3 separate regions of the Homo sapiens genome follow, and regions 1 and 2 are each linked to region 3. Evidence: promoter capture Hi-C in human tissues and cell types (Jung and others, 2019). All regions are on one chromosome and are shown on one strand. Each heading gives the region's core, a stretch centred on a gene start or on the middle of the fragment in contact. The rest is flanking DNA. Distances are from core to core; before and after follow the strand shown.

Region 1 (3,263 bases), core at 360-2,859, 780 kb before region 3:
AAAAGGTTCAGAGAATCTTGAGATTCTCTGATATGGTTTGGCTGTGTCCCCACCCAAATCTCATCTTGAATTGTAGCTCCCATAATCCCCACGTGTTGTGGGAGGGACCCTGTAGGAGGTAATTGAATCACAGGGGTGGGCGTTCCCATGCTGTTCTCATGATAGTGAAGAAGTCTCATGAGATCTGATCGTTTTATAAAGGGGAGTTTCCCTGCACACACTCTCTTGCCTGCCACCATGTAAGACATGCGGTTGCACCTCCCTTGCCTTCTGCTGTGATTATGAGGCCTCCCTAGCCATGTGGAACTGTGAGTCCATTAAACCTCTTTTTCTTTATAAATTACCTAGTCTTGGGTATTTCTTCATAGCAGCATGAAAATAGACTAATACATTCTCTAAGTTCAAGATTCCTCCTCTATGATATCACCCACTGAGTGTGCAGGAATCAGCTGGTCCACCTATGGCACCATGTGGGAATCAGGACTCAGAGAACAGACACTAATACTCTGGTTACTGTGATTTCTCTGAATAATAAACTGTCCTTTATCTTTGACCCAGAAGTCTTTGTCTTCTGTCAGCATCCATGGAACTGTGGCTCAAGCAGGGTAAAATCTCAGAGTCTTCATAGTTCTTGACAGGAAGCAGGAAAGTATGATGCACAGGAAAAGAAAAGTTGATAAATGGAACTCAACCCATAAATGATGCAGATGATAGAATTAATATGAAAGGGCATGTTAAAAGTTGTTATAACTCTGTTCCACATATTTACAAAATTAAAATTAGGACTGACCATGTTAATTCGAGACAAAGAAGTTATAGAAAGACCCAAATTGAATTTCAAGGAATTCAAAACACAGTGCCTGAATTAAAAATTATACTTGATGAGAACAGTGGCAGATTAGATACTATAGAAGAAAAGATTAATGAACTTGAAGATGAAGCAATAGAAGCTATCCAAATGAAAACAGAATAAGTGACTGAGGGGAAAAAAAAAGAGCATCCATGAGCTATGAGACATCTTGAAGGGTGGTTCTAATTACAATATAAATGAATGTGAATCTCTGAGGGTGAATGTGGGAGAAAGGGACAGAAAAAATATTTGAAGTAAAAGTGATTAAAATGTTTCAATGTGATGAAATTATCAACCCACATATGCAAGAAGTTCTATGACCCCAAAGCATAAGAAACATAATGAAAATTACACCTAAGTACATCATAATCAATTTATTCAACACCAGCAATAAAGAGAAAAATCACAAAAACAAGCAGAGGAAAATGACAAGTTACATATAGAAGACAAAGATAAAGATAAATCAGGCCAGGCACAGTGGCTTACGCCAGTAATCCCAGCACTTTGGAAGGCTGAGTTGGGCAGATCACTTGAGGTCAGGAGTTCGAGACCAGCCTGGCCAACATGGTGAAACCCCATCTCTACTAAAAATACAAAAATTAGCAAGGCACGGTGGTGGGCACCTGTAATCCCAGCTACTTGGGAGGCTGAGTCAGGAGAATCACTTGAATCCAGGAGGCAGAGGTTGCAATGAGCCTCCTGAGCTGAGACAGCACCATTGCACTCCAGCCTGAGTGACAGAGCAAGACTCTGTCAAAAAAGAAAAAAAAAAGATAAATAAAAGGTCCCAATGGAAACTAGAAACTACAATGACATGCAAAAACATGATGAATCTCACAAATGTAATATTAGAGAAGGTATGAAAGCATATATTATTTATTATATAATCTCATATATCAAGTTCAAAAAGCAGGAAAAAAATTAACATTTAGAAAGGCTTGTTTAGGTGATAAAATGATAAAGAAGACCTAGGTACTGATCACTGTGACAGTCAGGGTTTTGATTAAACTTTGGTGATTGGAGAGGAGATACTGCCGGGAGGGGGCCATGAGAGGGCTGCCTGGCTGGATGGTTATCATAAAAATATATAGTTTCTGTATTTGCATTTGGTTATTTAATTGATATCTCTATATTTTGTCTGTGTTTCTATATATTTGTCGCAATTTTATAAAATTGTCTAAAAGAGGAAGAAAGAAAAAGAGGAAATGAGGAAGGGAATGAAGAAAGGAGGAAAGAAAAGAAGCATCAGTGGCAGAGGTTGTAAAACTAGATTATAGCTAGAAGAAGGAAGAGTTGCACATTAGCCTGACTCCATAAATACCACTCAAAAACTAAAAATCCCAGTGTTATGGATTCTGACAATATGTTACCTTTCAGAATATCTCTGAAAAATTGTACAATAATCACAAATAGAATTAAATAATAATAAAATTAAAAGAAGATACCTTACTTTCTAAATTTCCCAAAGAGATCACATGACAGTATACTCAGCAATGCAAATAATAACAATAACTAGCAGTGTAACAAAAGCCTCATGTATCAAATAAGATGACAGAAACACAAGCAAATGCTTATAACAGTAAGTGTAATTAGGTTACTTTAATAAGTGTAAAAGCCACTCAGATTGACTTAAACTCAATAAAAAGGTAAAGCTTTAAAAGTATAAAGTTAGAAAAATGTATATTTGAGAAAGGAGCATCAAAAGAAAACATGAAGAACTACTTCTATTTGAACCAATCTATTCGGTTAGAAGTCTAGCAAAAAAATCTCCAGTGACAAAGAGTTGGTTATTTGATATTGATAACAATTTAAATTCCTGATGAAATATAATAGTGATGGGGCTTTTTGTGTCAGATGATATGGCAAGATACAATACAAATAAAAACCTGTTGAAAATGCAATGAGGAGTTCCCAGATACAATATTATTAGTCAATGACAGAACAAATAGACTACGGATGACATGGACTGTTTGAAAAATGTACTTAGCAGGGTAGTCCTTGCTATAGGAATAGACAGGCTGATCAATGAAACAGATGAAAGAGTTCAGAAACAGACCCAAGTAGATCTGGGATTTCAGTACATATTCTGGCCGACATTTCAAAGACAGATGACTCAATCAATGGCATTAAAACAACTAGTTGGCCATTTGGGAAAATAAACTGAATCCCAACCTCATTCCTTTCACCAACATAAATTCCAGAAGGAGCAGAGATGAAACATAGAAATGAAACTATAAAAATACTAGAGTAAAAGAACCAAAGGTTATTATTCAGCACTAAAAAGAAATGAGCTATCAAACCATGAAAAGACATGTAGGAAACTTAAATGCATATTACTAAGTGCAAAAAGCCAATGTGAAAAGGCTACATATTGTATGAATCCAATTATATGACATTCTGGAAAGGCAAAACC
Region 2 (3,506 bases), core at 247-2,746, 720 kb after region 3:
TCTGTGTCCACACATCATTTCTGTTCACTCCCGTATCCCTCCTCTTGGCAGGACAGACTTCTCTGAGCTCTAAACAAGTTGATTGACACAGTCAAGCCCACAGAGGCTGTAAATGTGAGACTGGAAGTCACTTTTATTGAGTGCCAACTGCATGCTATGTGCTTTCATACACGTAAGCTTCACAGCCACCCTATTGTTGAGGGTGTGCCTTATACTCGCACAGTCGAGGTGGGAGCAGGGGTGAATATTTTGCAGCCTTAACAACAAACTGGTCCCATGCTGGGTGTCAGGGAGAAACACCAACTAGGTGTGGTATATGCTAGGCCCATTTACATTACTGTATTTAATCCTTGTAAGCCCAGGAGGTGTGTCCTATCATTATTACTTTTTATACACAAGGAAGCTGAGATCCAGAAAGGATAAAAAAAAAAAAATGTGCTCAGAGTCACAAAGGGCAGAGCAGGACTTGAAGCAAAGCCCATCTAAACCCAAACCCCAGGCTCTTTTCACTACATGACCTTGACCTTAATCAGCTCCCGTGCATACAGGTCCTACATTAGGCCGTATGTGAGAGCAGCCCTACTGTGAGCTCACAGTGCCATTACTGATGACAGGAGGTTGGGAAAGGTCAAGGGCATGCTAAATGTCATCCAGCTACTAAGCAGCCAAACTGGGATCTGAGCCCAGTCACTTTGACCCCTCACGGTGGGCTCTCAGGTATCTCAGTGACTCCCCCTGGAGAAGGTGAGGCTTGGGTAGGGGAGGGAGTTTCAGTAAACATTCCCCTGGGGATTCTGAAACACCCACCTAGTGGGTGCTCCCATCTCCCAAACCCCATCACTGGCATTCCAGAGGCCCTTTTCACTGGTCTACAATGCCAAGGTCTGCCGTGTCTTTTGGGAATGAACAAAGAGACAAGACTGGGAACCACTGTCCAAATGGGGGATTTAAGGCTAAACCCTACTCATCATAACTAACTTTACCCAAAGTCAACATGAAATGGGCGTTGACAACTGTTTCCCTTGTTAGAGTTCAGAATAATTTCTTGAGAAATTTGGAAGTGCAGTGACTTTCTGCAGTGGTGAAAATGTTCTGCACTGTCCAATACAATAGCTTGTGGCTATTGAGTGCTAGAAAGTGGATGACCGTGATTAAGAAACAAGAGTTTTCATTTTATTTCATTCTCATTAATTTAAATTTAAATAGCAACATGTGGCTGGTGGCTACCATCTTGGACAGCCATGTCTAAGGCACATCTGGTAGTTACATCTTAGCAGGAGGGATGCTGAATTGTGCAAACCGAATGGGAAGTGGAGATTTAATAACATAAACTCTATGAAGGGGTGTCAAGAAGATGAGACTGCAAGAAAGGCTTGCTGGTCCATTTTATAGCCTCATGCCTTCCCCCAGCACGACATCCAATTGCAGCATCCTAGAAGCCTAAAGGCAGCCTTGGGAGGGTGCTAGTAAGAACTGCTGCTAAGAACTTCTCTCGGAAAGTCACTGGGATAGCACTTTATTCCACTATCTCATTTAATCACAGGAGGTTGGCATCCCTAGTCTTAATTTAGGTGAGAAAACAGGATCAGACAAATAAAGCAAACGGCCTTAACTCCAATGTCCTTATCCATTCCACAAGGCCCTGGGGCCTGGTACCTCATTCCCTTATTGCAAAAGGAGAAAGACTTACGATGTCTGTGCCTTTACAGACACTCTGCAAGCAGGGAGTGGGGGCTGGAATGTCCCTCACAGGCAGTGCAACTGGCACGATATCTACACTTACTTGCATATAAGCAATATTTACAATTAACAAAAAGGCAGCACCGTTGCAGTATTTAGGGGAAGAGTTAGCTTGGAATGTACTGCGGCCCTCTTAGTCAAGCTACGTGTCAATACCAGGCTATATTTTCTGAGATTGCACTGGACAAGCCAGACGGACTTCTAATGATCGTCAAGCACCATATGATTATGAGAGAGGGCAGGAGGGGAGCACCGCGGGAGAGAAGGAGAGAGAGGGAATGAGGGCGTATGCTGAGATGAACGGCAGTTTATCTCCCAGTTTCTGAATATGCTTAGCATTCCATCATAATCTGCATACATGTGGAATTTAAGGCCAGAGAGAACACTGGAAATAATGTTATCCAAGTCCCTGTAAGGAATCTGAGGTCCGGAGATGTGATCATCCCAACATCTCACAACTATCCAGGAACTTTATGCAAGATCAATGCAGTGTTTTCAATGAAGAGAAATGGGAAAGCACTATATTTCAGCACTAACTCAGTTGGGGCCTCCCAATGGACTGGGCCCTCGTCTGTCATATTCATGGTGTAACCCTAGTGCCTACAATAGTGCTGGGCATATAGTAGACAGGTGATAAATATTTTTTAAATGAATGAGGGAATGAAAATATTCAGCCAGCAGCAGCCGGACACAAGGGAAATGTCTGACTGCTGGCAATAGGACCGGCGGGCCAGCAAGGCAAATGTGGGAAGGAGGCTCTGCCTTGGTTGGAAGGGCTCTGCCTCCTCTCAGTGCCCTCCGGTCCCTCGTCCACCCCCACACCAGAACTTGTTCTCAGATGCAGATGAGTTAGGTCTAGGGCAAATACACTTGTTGAAGAATGCAGAGGCTCCACAGGGAGATTTGGAGAGCAGCCCCAGGGCTGGCTGTGCCGCTTGACAGAGGAGGCCCTTGTGACCACGAAGCACACTCGAGGAGCGGTGGGGTACAGGAATCAACAGCCGTGGCAATCGCCACTCTCCATAATGTGCAGGGCTGCACAGAAACAGCTTCCAAGGTGGAGTGAGTGGTGATTGTCAGGTTTGTGGGTTTCCTTGGCATTAATCTTCCCGGAGATGGAGTCAATTTGAAAAGCAATTTTCTAAAGAGGCTTTATCAAGAGAGTCAGTGAAGGATGCTCAGCTACAATCAAAGGGGAAAATACACCTGGCTGTGACCAGCTGCACCAGCTGTGTGTAGAATGAGCAGAGCCAGCCCAGGCCGGCCCCATCAGCCAGCTGGGAGTGACCTGTCTAACACAGCTGCCCCCAGCCCCTCTGGGCACCCTGAGGGGACTGTTCACTGAGCTCCTTTAAGGCTGTGCCAAAATATGTGATCCAGCTCTGAAGTTTAAGTGAATTTGGAAATAAATGTTAAAACCTGGTATCAATGCCGGAAGCAGCATGGGAGTGAGAGGTCAGCGTGTGCTCGGCCCTGTGCCACCTGGGGGACTGTGGACCAGCACTCCCGAGCTGCAGAGGCTTCCTGCACAAGTTCATGCCCACCTGACTCTGCTACAGGGGGAGGAGAAAACCTCACCATGGCCACCTGCTGCGTGTCGTCATGTGACTGCCACAAAAGCAGGCATCTTGGGCACTTGAGAAAGAGTGGCTGTCATTGTTACTATTGTGATTATTCTATCAAAACAATCACAGCCTTATAACTTTTTCTTTTTTTTTGAGACAGAGTCTTGCTCTGTGGCCCAGGCTGGAGTGCAGTGGCACGAT
Region 3 (3,638 bases), core at 286-2,785:
TGCAGTGAGCCGAGATTGCACCAGTGCACTCCATCCTGGGTGACAGAGCAATACTCCATCTCGGAAAAAAAAAAAAAAAAAAAAAGCAACAAAAAACAAAAAGACCACTCTGGCATTTGCTGTGCCTCAGTTTCCTTGTCTATAATGAAGGTATGAATAAAACAGACTTTCCAATCAGGACCAGCTATATAAAAGATCCTCCCTTGAAAGTCACACACACATACACACACAGCCACACACACACACTCACACACAGCCACACATACCCACACCCATACCCACACCAAAACTCTTTTACATACACACACAGATGCACTCAAACCAATACAACTCTATCACACACACACATATACCCAAAACAAAAAACCTTTTTATTATATTTTGCCTTACCCATTTATCCCTTGGGAAATTGTATTGCACAAAATTATTTAGTAAGTTAAATTCTTGTCCCTCATTTTATGAGGTTACGACTTTGGGGTTGGGGGAGAAGGCACTGCTCCGAAGTCACATCATCAACCAAGGTGGAGAAGGCATCCTGAGAGGATCTCTATTCTAGAAGCAATGGATAAGAACAGGGGAAGGGCCACCTTATGGGAGAGATGCCAGCCTCAAACACCCTATAAAAAGCAGTAACTTACTGTCTGTCTCTTCTAATAGAAAGCAACACTTGGGGCCAAAATATTTTTTTTAAATTTACTGCTATATCTTTAGTGCCCAGAACTATACCTGGCACAGTAAGTGCTCAGTAAATATTTGCTGAATAGACGGAGCTAGGGACTGGCGGTTCCACTTTGGTGCCTCTAGGAGTGCTCCTCTCCCCATGGGAAACATGCTCAGAAGCAGGAAGTTCCAGGTAACATAAACTTGTAACTTCACTCTCTTCTCTTTGACCTGTCACCCTTGAGCATTTGAGACTGAATTGCAAAAGTCTTAGAGAGAAGAGGTAGGGGAAAGATTGACCTATTTTTCCCAACCCACCCATCTCTTTCCCCACTGGTAGGGTCTAAATGGGGCATCAATTAGTATGTTAGAATTCATCTCTAGCCTGGGACAGGCATGCCTTCTAAGAATCCTATCATGAAAGATTTGTAAGCATAAGAATCTTTCATTTATCTATTACGTAAATCCAGATTTATTAATTGAATTTGTTTAAATCAAATTATTTGTGCTATAGATCTCACATTTTCAACAAATTCCTACAACTAGTATGTCTTTGCTCATAAGCTGAAGGAAAATTAGGGGTGAATTAAAACTAAAAATGGTTTGAAATTCTCATAGTCCTCTCAGCAAAGCCCTACTGATTGATACAATAGACCACTGCTAAAGCGGCTTTAACAATAGTGGACCATTTTGGATATTATCTGTGTATAGAAAGACACAGAGTTTGACTCTGTTTGGAAAATCAGACGCTAAATAGCCCCTGAAGCCGAGCAGCCTGTTATGAAAACGGAGGGGTGGTAGGCCCTTCTAATTGGCCAGGGTATTTACCCAGAGCTCTGGCTTTCACATAAAAGGCAGGAACCACTGAAGTCAGTCCCCGCTTCCAGTCAGAGTTCAAGTTAAAACAGAAAAAAGGAAGATGGCAAGAATATTGTTACTTTTCCTCCCGGGTCTTGTGGCTGTATGTGCTGTGCATGGAATATTTATGGACCGTCTAGCTTCCAAGAAGCTCTGTGCAGATGATGAGTGTGTCTGTAAGGACTTTTTTATGCTTTTCATTATCTTTCTATTACATAATTGAAAATATATCCACTAATAGCATAAAATCGAATTATACTTTGAAGTGAATCTTCTCCAATGTGTATGTTATCAGCTTTGTTTCTTCTGGTCTGCATGTTTGGTATCTTACTACGGAGAATTCACTTGGCTGAGTTTTGTTGCAGCTTTAATATCTTGGCTGTCTTCTTTCTCTTGGATAGACACCAGCTATGAACTGGGAATTATCAGTCACTCTGATTTTCTAGTTTTTCTAATATACATTGCCTTTTACTGTTATAAAATTCAGGAGCCTAAAATGTAATCATTTAAATTTTTTTTCTTCCAGATACTATTTCTCTGGCTAGTGCTCAAGAAGATTATAATGCCCCGGACTGTAGATTCATTAACGTTAAAAAAGGGCAGCAGATCTATGTGTACTCAAAGCTGGTAAAAGAAAATGGAGCTGGAGAATTTTGGGCTGGCAGTGTAAGATAATTTAAACACCTATTGACGAATATTGCTCTTAACCTTTCCTTGATTACCTACCTTCAACCTATTTTAATGCTTAATACTAGTTGTTAAGAACCATGTAGTGATTGTAGATGGAAATGCAAAAATTCAGGTATATTTGCTATTGCATTTTAAAGAAAGAAAGATCAATTTCGTAACAAAACCAAATGTAGGTTAATGTGATATTTTGGTAAAAAAAGAGTCAAATACATGGGGGCTTAAACATCCCAAAGAATTTGAATCTTATCCGAAAACGTCTGAGAAGATTTGCCAAGTAGAAGGCATGTGTGTTGGCAGTGAGTCTAAGTATCAATATTCTTTTAGGAAACTTTGCACCCTAATTAATTCGAAAGAATCAGCGTTCTTCAGTTAAAATATACAGGGGCGGTCCCTGGGGAGGGATGAAGCAGGGATGATTTTCTGTCCTCATCTGCAACCCTAAAGGTAAGTTCTAAATTAATGAAGGATTAAATTTAAAGCCATTTAAGTCTGTTCATTTGAATTGTTGAAAACTGAGAAATTTGCATCATTTAAAATAAGTGTCTACAGTACTTTAAAAAAATGTACTGTCTTTATATATTTATTTATGGGTTCAAAAAAGATTTCAGGCAACTCACAAGATTGCGTAAAATAAAGTCATGCTAAAGTAGCGAAATAAGACTGGGCCACTAAACAGTAGATGCACAATTCCTGCGGGTTAACTTAGTGCTCCAAGTAAACTTCGGATTTGCCGCAGCGCCCCCTGGACCCCGGAGTGAAAGGGAGGTATTGGCAGCTATGATTCTCACTATCAGCAAAGAGGACGCCTGCGAGTTTCTCAGAAGACACTCAGCATCAGCTTTTTCCTGATTGCTATTCTTCTGGGCACTTAGGTTTATGGTGATGGCCAGGACGAGATGGGAGTCGTGGGTTATTTCCCCAGGAACTTGGTCAAGGAACAGCGTGTGTACCAGGAAGCTACCAAGGAAGTTCCCACCACGGTAAGCATCTCAAAAGTGACTAGACAAGGACTCAGATCTTGGGGCAATGTAGGCCGGTGTTAAAAATGCATCATGCAACTTACAAGTTGTATAGAACAAAGCCTCCAACTTTCAGTGGCGACTTTTCTGAGATAATGAGGTTTGGGGGACCATTTATAACTACTGTCAAAGTTGAAAGATGAGTAAACTTTCTCTATACCACCCCCTTTTGTTTTATTTCAGTTTACTACTTTTTGTCTCATCTTTTTTCTATATTTTTTCAGCTTTATTGGGTTATAATTGACAAATAAAAATTGCATACATTTAATGCATACATTATGTTTTGATATACATTGTGAAATGATCATCACATTCAAGCTAGTTAACACATACATCACCTCACATAGTTACCTTTGTGTGTGTGTGTGTGTGTGTGTGTGAAAACATTAAGATCTGCCCTCTTAGTAAATT

What was found. The method cuts DNA at HindIII sites, captures the fragments that hold promoters and counts their contacts. A contact is called where the count stands out against the background at its distance.
Region 1: a fragment that was not itself captured here is called in contact with the fragment with the promoter of OTOR in region 3 in 1 of the 25 tissues and cell types used here (lymphoblastoid cells).
Region 2: a fragment that was not itself captured here is called in contact with the fragment with the promoter of OTOR in region 3 in 1 of the 25 tissues and cell types used here (IMR-90 fibroblasts).

Annotation. Positions count from the first base shown.
Region 1 is chr20:15,971,212-15,974,474 of GRCh38, forward strand. All of the region lies in intron 13 of MACROD2 (mono-ADP ribosylhydrolase 2), which reads left to right. The region is part of intron 1 of LOC613266 (a long non-coding RNA gene); the gene reads right to left. Among named protein-coding and RNA genes, the nearest start is that of KIF16B, 600 kb to the right of the region's middle. The HindIII fragment of the contact is 4,573 bases long and covers 1-3,263 here.
Region 2 is chr20:17,469,127-17,472,632 of GRCh38, forward strand. The region is part of intron 11 of PCSK2 (proprotein convertase subtilisin/kexin type 2); the gene reads left to right. Among named protein-coding and RNA genes, the nearest start is that of BFSP1, 60 kb to the right of the region's middle. The HindIII fragment of the contact is 7,308 bases long and covers 1-3,506 here.
Region 3 is chr20:16,746,823-16,750,460 of GRCh38, forward strand. OTOR (otoraplin) reads left to right here and starts at 1,536. Exons shown (of 4, transcript NM_020157.4): 1 at 1,536-1,694; 2 at 2,045-2,184; 3 at 3,081-3,188. The coding sequence starts at 1,580. The HindIII fragment of the contact is 9,309 bases long and covers 1-3,638 here.